Regions from separate parts of the Homo sapiens genome. Here region 2 is linked to region 1. Evidence: promoter capture Hi-C in 16 types of primary human blood cells and fetal thymus (Javierre and others, 2016). All regions are on one chromosome and are shown on one strand. The core of a region is centred on a gene start or on the middle of the fragment in contact, and the rest is flanking DNA. Distances in the headings are between cores, read along the strand shown.

Region 1 (3,990 bases), core at 1,072-3,571:
AAACACAAAAGTGACTGAGGTCCAGAGCTTTGGGTTTCACTTATAACCATAAGCAACTGTGTACCTGCTAAGGAAGAAGGCTGCAGACCTGAAAGAGGCCCACGGAAGGCCTGGGGATTTCTGAGAGGACACCGGCTCAAGTTACATTCCCATATTATTTCACCACCCTCATGCTTGTTTATTTACATTTCAGGCTGCCTCTCTAGGCGAGGCTGCAGGAGTGAAGGGGCTGGAAGAGGTTTCAAAGGAGAGTGAACGTGGTAGAAAAGGAAATATTTGATTAGAAGTTAACATGTCCTCTGGGGCTTCTTTGACTTGGATTACTGTAAAAGTGCATGGTGTAATAGTTGAGCACTCCCGGGAGGTGGTGGGCGGTCTCTCTGTACAGAGTTGTGGCTTTGTTTCTGATGAGTTGCAGCTGCTGTGCATAATGTAGACTAGATCAAATGGGGCATGGAGAAGAGCCATTCACAGGACCGGAGTGACGGTGCTCGCTCTGATGGCAGAATACTAAATTAATCATCTTCACCTAAACCTGTGCTTTCTCCTGGCCTGTACCTCAGTGAATACCTGCAAGTTGCTTAGGCTGTAACTTGAAGTCAGCCTACAATCCTCTTTGTCTCCAGATCCTGTCCACTTTCCTTTCCGAAGGTCTTTCAGATCCATTTCCTTCTTTCCACCTCCACTGGCACTGCCCTCATTCAGAGTCTCATCATGTCTTCCTGGATTGCAGCTTCCTTCCAGGTCTCTCAGCCTCAAGTCTTAGGCCTCCCATTCAATTTTCCGTGTTACTGTCAGAGGAATTTTTCTAAACTAGCTTAAAACCCGTCTGTGGTTCTCCATGGCCTTCCAGATCAAATGTGCTCCCTGAAGACTGGCCTGTGAGCCCCTTCACACCAGTAATCCTGACCCTGCATGCAATTCCCAGAACACAAGGCATTTGTTCTCAAATCCTGCGGCTTTCTTTGCTTGCTTCTCCTCCTGCCTGGGATCCTTCCCATCCTCCATGGTTTCTCTCCTCCTTTCCTCCTCCTCAAGTTCAGATATTTCCCTCACCTGTACCCCCTCTGTTGTAGCATTTATCACAAACTACACTGAATCTCTTGACTGGGCAGAAGAATGAATTGTTTCCCAGCATCTAGCTTTGACATAAAAGTTGCTCAATAAATACTTGACGAATGAATGAACTCTATTAAAGTAGGGTTCAGTCATAGTTCAGGGAAGGGGCCCTGAAATAGCTGGCTCTGAAAGAAGGTAATGCCGGTTATTGCGATTATGTTGTTAGATGGGTAGAATTTCGCATTCGATTAAGGGATAGTTTTGGGTTTCTTCAAGCTAAAGAAACTAAAGCCTATAAAAGGTGATTTAAAAGACCTCTTCTCTAGACTTGATGAAACGCTGTAATTGCCATCTTTGGCTGACACTGAGGAGTTCAGGAATGCCAAGCAAGTGTTTCCAGAAATGTCAAACCTGCTGTTTTAAAATATGTCATTCCAGGGCACAGTTAAATATACAACTTGCTCCGATGAGGTGGGAGAAGTGGGCCGGTGAGCTGTGAAATGAAATCTGCCTAATGAGGGTCGAGGCCAGCACACACAGGGACCTATTTGCAGTAAAACAACGTGGGGTGACGCCTAAGAAATAGACAACATTAACACAAAGGGAGCCTACTACGTAGCACATTTCCGCTAGGCATAAAAGAGACACCTTTCCAGAAAGCAACTCTAAAAATGAATGCACCGCCTAGTGAGGTGCGAGCCTTCCTCCCCACGAGGCGTCCCGTGCAACCGCACGCGGACAGCGGGGCTCCAGCGGAGGCGGGGTGGATGCGGAGACAAGGCGCCTAGGAGACTGGGCTAAGGCTTTGAGTGTCCGAACGAAGATTCTTTCGAACCTATTGATTTTTTCTAGTCTTATGATTCTTTCGAACCTTTTGATTCTTTCCATTCTCGGTTCTAAGCATTAAAGCGCAGCTGAGAAAGGCAGCAACAAAGATGGGAAGAGAACTAGCAGGAGTTCTCAGAGAAAAATGGGTGATAATTTAGGGGAGAAGCCATAAAGAAGAGACTAAGCGAGAAGCGGAGCACACGCAGAAGACGAAACAAGGAGGAGGAGAAGAGAAGAAGAACCTTGGCGAAGGAAGAGAGTGACCAAACTCGTCCCGGACGGGAGGAGGGCAGGCCCGCCCAGAGGGAATCGGCTGCTTTAAGGGAAGCCCCGCCCCCTGGTGGTGACGCTCCACCAGGCCCGTCCGCGATTGGCTGCGGCCAGAGGGCGGGATGGGGTTGCTAGGCGAGGAGGGGATCCGGCGGGCCCCCGCCGCCCGGAGCGCTGAGCCGCGGGAGCGGAGCCGGGGTTAGCGGCGCTGCTGGAAGATGGCGAGCGGCCGGGACGAGCGGCCGCCTTGGCGGCTAGGGCGGCTCCTGTTGCTCATGTGCCTGCTGCTGCTGGGGAGCTCGGCCCGGGCGGCTCACATCAAGAAGGCGGAGGCGACTACCACAACTACGAGCGCGGGCGCCGAGGCGGCCGAGGGCCAGTTCGACCGCTACTACCACGAAGAGGAGTTGGAGTCGGCGCTGAGGGAGGCGGCGGCCGCGGGCCTCCCCGGCCTGGCCCGCCTCTTTAGCATCGGCCGCTCGGTGGAAGGCCGGCCGCTGTGGGTGCTTCGCCTCACCGCCGGCCTGGGGTCGCTAATCCCTGAGGGCGACGCGGGGCCTGACGCTGCCGGGCCCGACGCTGCGGGGCCGCTGCTGCCCGGCCGGCCCCAGGTGAAGCTGGTGGGCAACATGCATGGCGACGAGACCGTGTCGCGCCAGGTGTTGATCTACTTGGCCCGCGAGCTGGCGGCCGGCTACCGCCGCGGGGACCCGCGCCTGGTCCGCCTGCTCAACACCACCGACGTGTACCTGCTGCCCAGCCTCAACCCCGATGGCTTCGAGCGTGCCCGCGAGGGCGACTGTGGCTTCGGCGACGGCGGCCCGTCCGGGGCCAGCGGCCGCGACAATAGTCGCGGCCGCGACCTCAACCGAAGCTTTCCCGACCAGTTTAGCACCGGCGAACCCCCCGCCCTGGACGAGGTGCCCGAGGTGCGCGCCCTCATCGAGTGGATCCGCAGGAACAAGTGAGTGTTGCCTGCCCCCTCCCCGTCCGTGTGAGCCTCCAAGGGCCGAGGCTGGTTCCGGCACCCAGTAGGCGCTCAGACAATGCTGGCATAAGGGGTGGCGGTGGTGAAGGTGAAGGGAGACACCCTGTAACGGGGACAGGGCCCAGGCCGCGTAGCCTCCCGTCCTGCTAATCATCAAAGAATTGCCTCCTAGAGGCTGTCATTTGTTCAAGGGATGGCTGGAGGGGACACTCCTTTCTGACATTTCTGGTCCCTATTCTTACAGGGGCATAGAATATGAGCGAGAAGAGATCTTAAGGATAACCTAGGTCAGCTCACACATTTTATAGATAAGCTGTCAATGTTGTTATCTTATATCAAAAGTGCCTAATGTTATAGGCGCTGTGCTAATTTTTTCTGTGACTGCAGTATCTCACTTTATTTTGGCCACAACCTGATGTCATAGACACCATCAGTTTTGCATACGGGGAAATTGAGGGTCAGATTGGTTAACTGATTTACATAGGAGTGTGGCTGGGACTTAGAATTAGGCAATCTGATTCCCGATAGTCCTCTTAGCCACGGAGGGACACTGGAGCCCAAAAATGGCAGATGATATTCCCAGGATCTTCCCCTTGCCTATTTGACAGAAGCTGATTTTTCTCCAATTTTTACCTCTGACTCAGCTTAAGAAGATATGGACTTAGCTGGAGAACTTGCACAGATCTGTGAGCCGCTTCATTTTAGACTCTGAAGGGTTTGTGATGTCATTTGTGCACCTTATTAGCCTGGGCAGAATGGCTAATGGTCACACTTCTAATACACACTTTAAGTGTTATTAAGCATTGCATGAGGTTTAAAAAATTACAAAGTAGAAGAAGGAGGAC
Region 2 (3,990 bases), core at 718-3,217, 250 kb before region 1:
CCTGCTTTGGCCTCCCAAAGTGTTGGGCTTATAGGTGTGAGCCACTGCACCTGGCTGTGAACTTAGTATGTGTATATATGTATATGTAGTTATATATATATATAAAATTATATATATAAAATTACTCAGAAGCCATAGTATATTCCTTTTATAGGTTAAGCATTTATAGAAATTATAAGGGAAACATTAAAACCCTAGCAGAAAAAAAAGAGGAAAACACATTTAGAGACAAATATAGAAAAAATAGAAATATCTAATGAACATTAAAAATACTCAATTTTACTATAAGAAATGTAAACTTAGGACAATAGTGAGCTACCATTTTTTGCCATCATATTAGCCAAATACTTTTTAAAAATGAAATGGCAAGATCTTTGTGAAATTGCACTCGAATTTTTGTTATAAATTAATGCACATTTTTGGAAGCAGATGGACCTTTTCTGGAAAGCAATTCCAAAAATTAGTATAAATCTTTTAAAAGTTGACTATTGTTTACCCAATATTATCAGTCAGGAGACAGAAACCTTGCCAATATTTTCTTTTCTAAAATTTTGTCTTGGAATTGTCAGAAATTGATATAATATATTTTTAGGTATTCAAAAGCATTTATCTTGGGTCTCTTTATGATCGTAAAAATTTAAGACCAGTCCAGCTTTCAACAGTGAAAGCATGAGTAAGTAAAGTGTGTGCAATACTACGGCTATCACATTCATCATGAAATAACATTTAGTGAAAAAATATATACAAATTTGTTATAGATAAAAGGAAAAAAGACAATAAAGCATTTCATATTAATGGTAGTTATCTTTGTATGGCAGACAATGAGTGGTTTTTTTGTTTTTTTTTTTTTAATTTGTAGAGATGGGGGTCTCGCTATATTGCCCAGGCTCATTTTGAACTCCAGGCCTCAAGTGATCCTCCTGCTTTGGTGTCCCCAAGTGCTGGGATTACAGGTGTGAGCCACCACGCCTGGCATGATTTTTTTTTTTATACTTTTCTGTATTTTCAACTATTTTTTAAGAAAAATTATGGTGAATTTTAAGGATTTCCCATAGTGTATTTAGTTTCCAAATCATATTAAAATGTAAAAAGATATAACACATTTTATCTGATAGAAGACTAGGAGAGAAAATATTGGGACATTTTAAAAGCATGAGGTAGATGAAATAAGGATACAAAATTGAATACTTAGGGTTGTACAATGCTATAGGTGCACAGATAAGTAAAAAATAATAAATGAAAATGATTACTTTTTAGCATGGTAGTGTGAGTTTTTTTTCAAAATCATATTATTATTTTGTTATAATTTTGACGAATACAAGGAAGTGAGTGCTTAAAAAAAAAAAGATAACCATAATTGTGTATTCCCAAAGTAAGAAGCATTAGCAAGTTACAGGATTACATAAGTGTATACACTTCCATTCCTTTCACTATTTCTTGATATTTCTCCTCTTTAATCTTTTTAAAAATTTTCTTGAAAAAGTAAGTTGAAGGTTTGGTTTTCCTAATGAAAAATTAATCTTATTTTAGCTGGAAGCCTGTTTGGCTTACTATTGGTAAGAAAAAGTTAAAATTTTAATCTGTCTGAACATTATAGTACATCCAAATCAATAAAATGTTTTAGTTGTGGTTTTTCATCAGTTTTAATCAGATAATGCCTTACTTCTGTAGATATAGTCTAGTATAGTTCAAATAAAAAGACAGTTGTACATAGATAAGACAAAGCATATTGTGAAAATGTTGGGAAATTTAGGTTATTTTAATGATGGCTGAGAATTTGTGAACTTTTCTCATATGCTATTAAACTGAATTACTAGTAAATTTATGGTACCGAGTATATCAAACAGTGAGGGATTTAAAGTAATTTTGCAATTTGCTAAAATTTCATCCTTAACATACTGGCTAAGAGTGAAAAAGCAAGAAGAGAGAAAAGGAAAAGGATGGAACTAAGACAATTCTATTAGAAGTGGGGAGATGGCAAGAAAATTCTGTCCTCCTTATTTTTCTTTTTCTTTTTTAAAATATTTCATTTTGAGACAGGGACTCACTGTTGTCCAGGCTAGAGTGCAGTGGCTCTGTCACAGCTCACTGTAGCCTCAACCTCCTGGGCTCAAGCAATTCTCCCACCTCAGCCTCCCAAGTAGCTGAGACTACAGTCATGCACTACCATGCCTGCCTAATTTTTTTTTATTTTTTTGTTGAGACAGAGTCTCACTATGTTGCCCAGGCTGTTCTGGAGCCCCTGGCTTCAAATGATCCTCCTGCCTCAGCCTCTCAAAGTACTGGGATTAGAAGTGTGAGCCACTATGCCCAGCGTCCACTAGTCTTTTTAACCATTGTTTTCCATTTCTGAGGTCTTTGACTTAATTTCATAGTTTTTCAACATGTGCTCATTGGGGCATTATTTCTTAAGTTTTTGATTGTTAAATAATGCTTGCCCATTGCTTTTGTCACTTAAATATCTACTTGATTGGGTGTAATATTTCTACAATAACAATTTATTTCAAAATCTTACAGACATTAGTGATTTTTTCTGGTACTTAATGTTCTTATGAGGAAGTACAACACTATAGTTTCTTTTATCCCTACTTCTAGACTTTTTTTAATTGGCTTGGACTACTGGAGAGTATATAGCCTTTTTAACTCAATGTGTCTTGCTGCAAATAATGTTGAATTGTTTTTTCCAGGAATACACTGTTTCTTTTTCTCTAAATATTTAGCTTTTTCTTCATTTCATTGAAATTTACTGTCATCCATGTGCTGGGTTATCATTTTGGAGGATCATCTTTGTCTTTCATATCATCGTCATGCATTTATTAATGCATTCAACAGATATTTATTGATCACTTGCCCTGTGCCAGTGAAACATAACAAAAGCCACTGCCTTTATGGCACTTATATTCTCAAGGTGGTGGTGGTGGGGGGTGATAAGTAATTAACATAACAGATAAGTAAGTTACATGTGAATTTAGAAGATTACAGAGCTGTGAAAAAGTAGAGCAGGATAAGGAAAATTAAACAGGTATTTAGGGAAATTACTCAGTCTATGTCTTTTTCTCTCTACTAAGATTAAACTTTTGTCAGTGTTTCAGTTATAGCTTTTCTGTTTCTTACTGTTTCTAATTTATTAGCTCTATTGGTGTTATTTTAGTCTTCAATATATTTTCTTTAGCTCTACAGTTTCTCTGTCTTTTATTGTCCTCTCATCTGAATAGTAACTTTTAAAATTTAATTAGTAATCTTATTTTGAAGAGTTTGACAGGGAAGAGAGAGAGGAAGAGATGGAAATGATAGTTCAAAGATACACAGGTATACCTCACTGATATTGTGGGTATGGTTCCAGACCACTGCAATAAAGTAAATATCTCAGTAAAGCAAGTCATGTAAGTTTTTTGTTTCCTAGTGTATATAAAAGTTATGTTTATGCTATGCTGTAGTTTTTAAAGTGTGTAATAGCATTATAGCTAAAAAAATGCCTATACCATAATTTTAAAATACTTTATGCTAAAAAATGCTAATGATCATGTGAGCCTTTAGCCAGCAATAATCTTTTTGCTGGTGGAGGGTTTTGTCTCAATGTTAATGGCTGCTGACTGATCAGGTGATGTTTGCTGAAGGCTGGGTGGCCGTAGCAATTTCTTAAGACAAAAATGAAGTTTGCTGCATTGATCGACTCTTCCTTTAATGAATTATTTCTCGGTAACATGTGATGCTGTTTGATAGCATTTACCCACAGTAGAACTTTAAAAATTGGAGTCAGTCCTCTCAAATCCTGCTGCTGTTTTATCAACTAAGTTTATGTAATAATCTAAATTCTTTGTTGTCATTTCAACAATGCTCACGTCGTCACCATGAGTAGATTCTATATAAAGAAACCAGTGCAAGGCCAGGCGCGGTGGCTCACGCTTGTAATCCCAGCACTTTGGGAGGCCGAGGCGGGCGGATCACAAGGTCAGGAGATCAAGACCATCCTGGCTAACATGGTGAAAC

The links. The method cuts DNA at HindIII sites, captures the fragments that hold promoters and counts their contacts. A CHiCAGO score of 5 or more calls a contact.
Region 2: a fragment that was not itself captured here is called in contact with the fragment with the promoter of CPD in region 1 in 1 of 17 cell types (total CD4 T cells); the score reaches 5.6 in total CD4 T cells.

Annotation. Positions count from the first base shown.
Region 1 is chr17:30,376,606-30,380,595 of GRCh38, forward strand. It overlaps CPD (carboxypeptidase D), which reads left to right and starts at 2,322. Exons shown (of 21, transcript NM_001304.5): 1 at 2,322-3,121. The coding sequence starts at 2,376. RefSeq lists enhancers at 48-337, 588-637, 1,908-2,077, 2,223-3,150 and silencers at 2,128-2,367, 2,668-2,797. The HindIII fragment of the contact is 3,432 bases long and covers 1-3,029 here.
Region 2 is chr17:30,128,083-30,132,072 of GRCh38, forward strand. All of the region lies in intron 2 of NSRP1 (nuclear speckle splicing regulatory protein 1), which reads left to right. Among named protein-coding and RNA genes, the nearest start is that of MIR3184, 13 kb to the left of the region's middle. The HindIII fragment of the contact is 7,104 bases long and covers 1-3,990 here.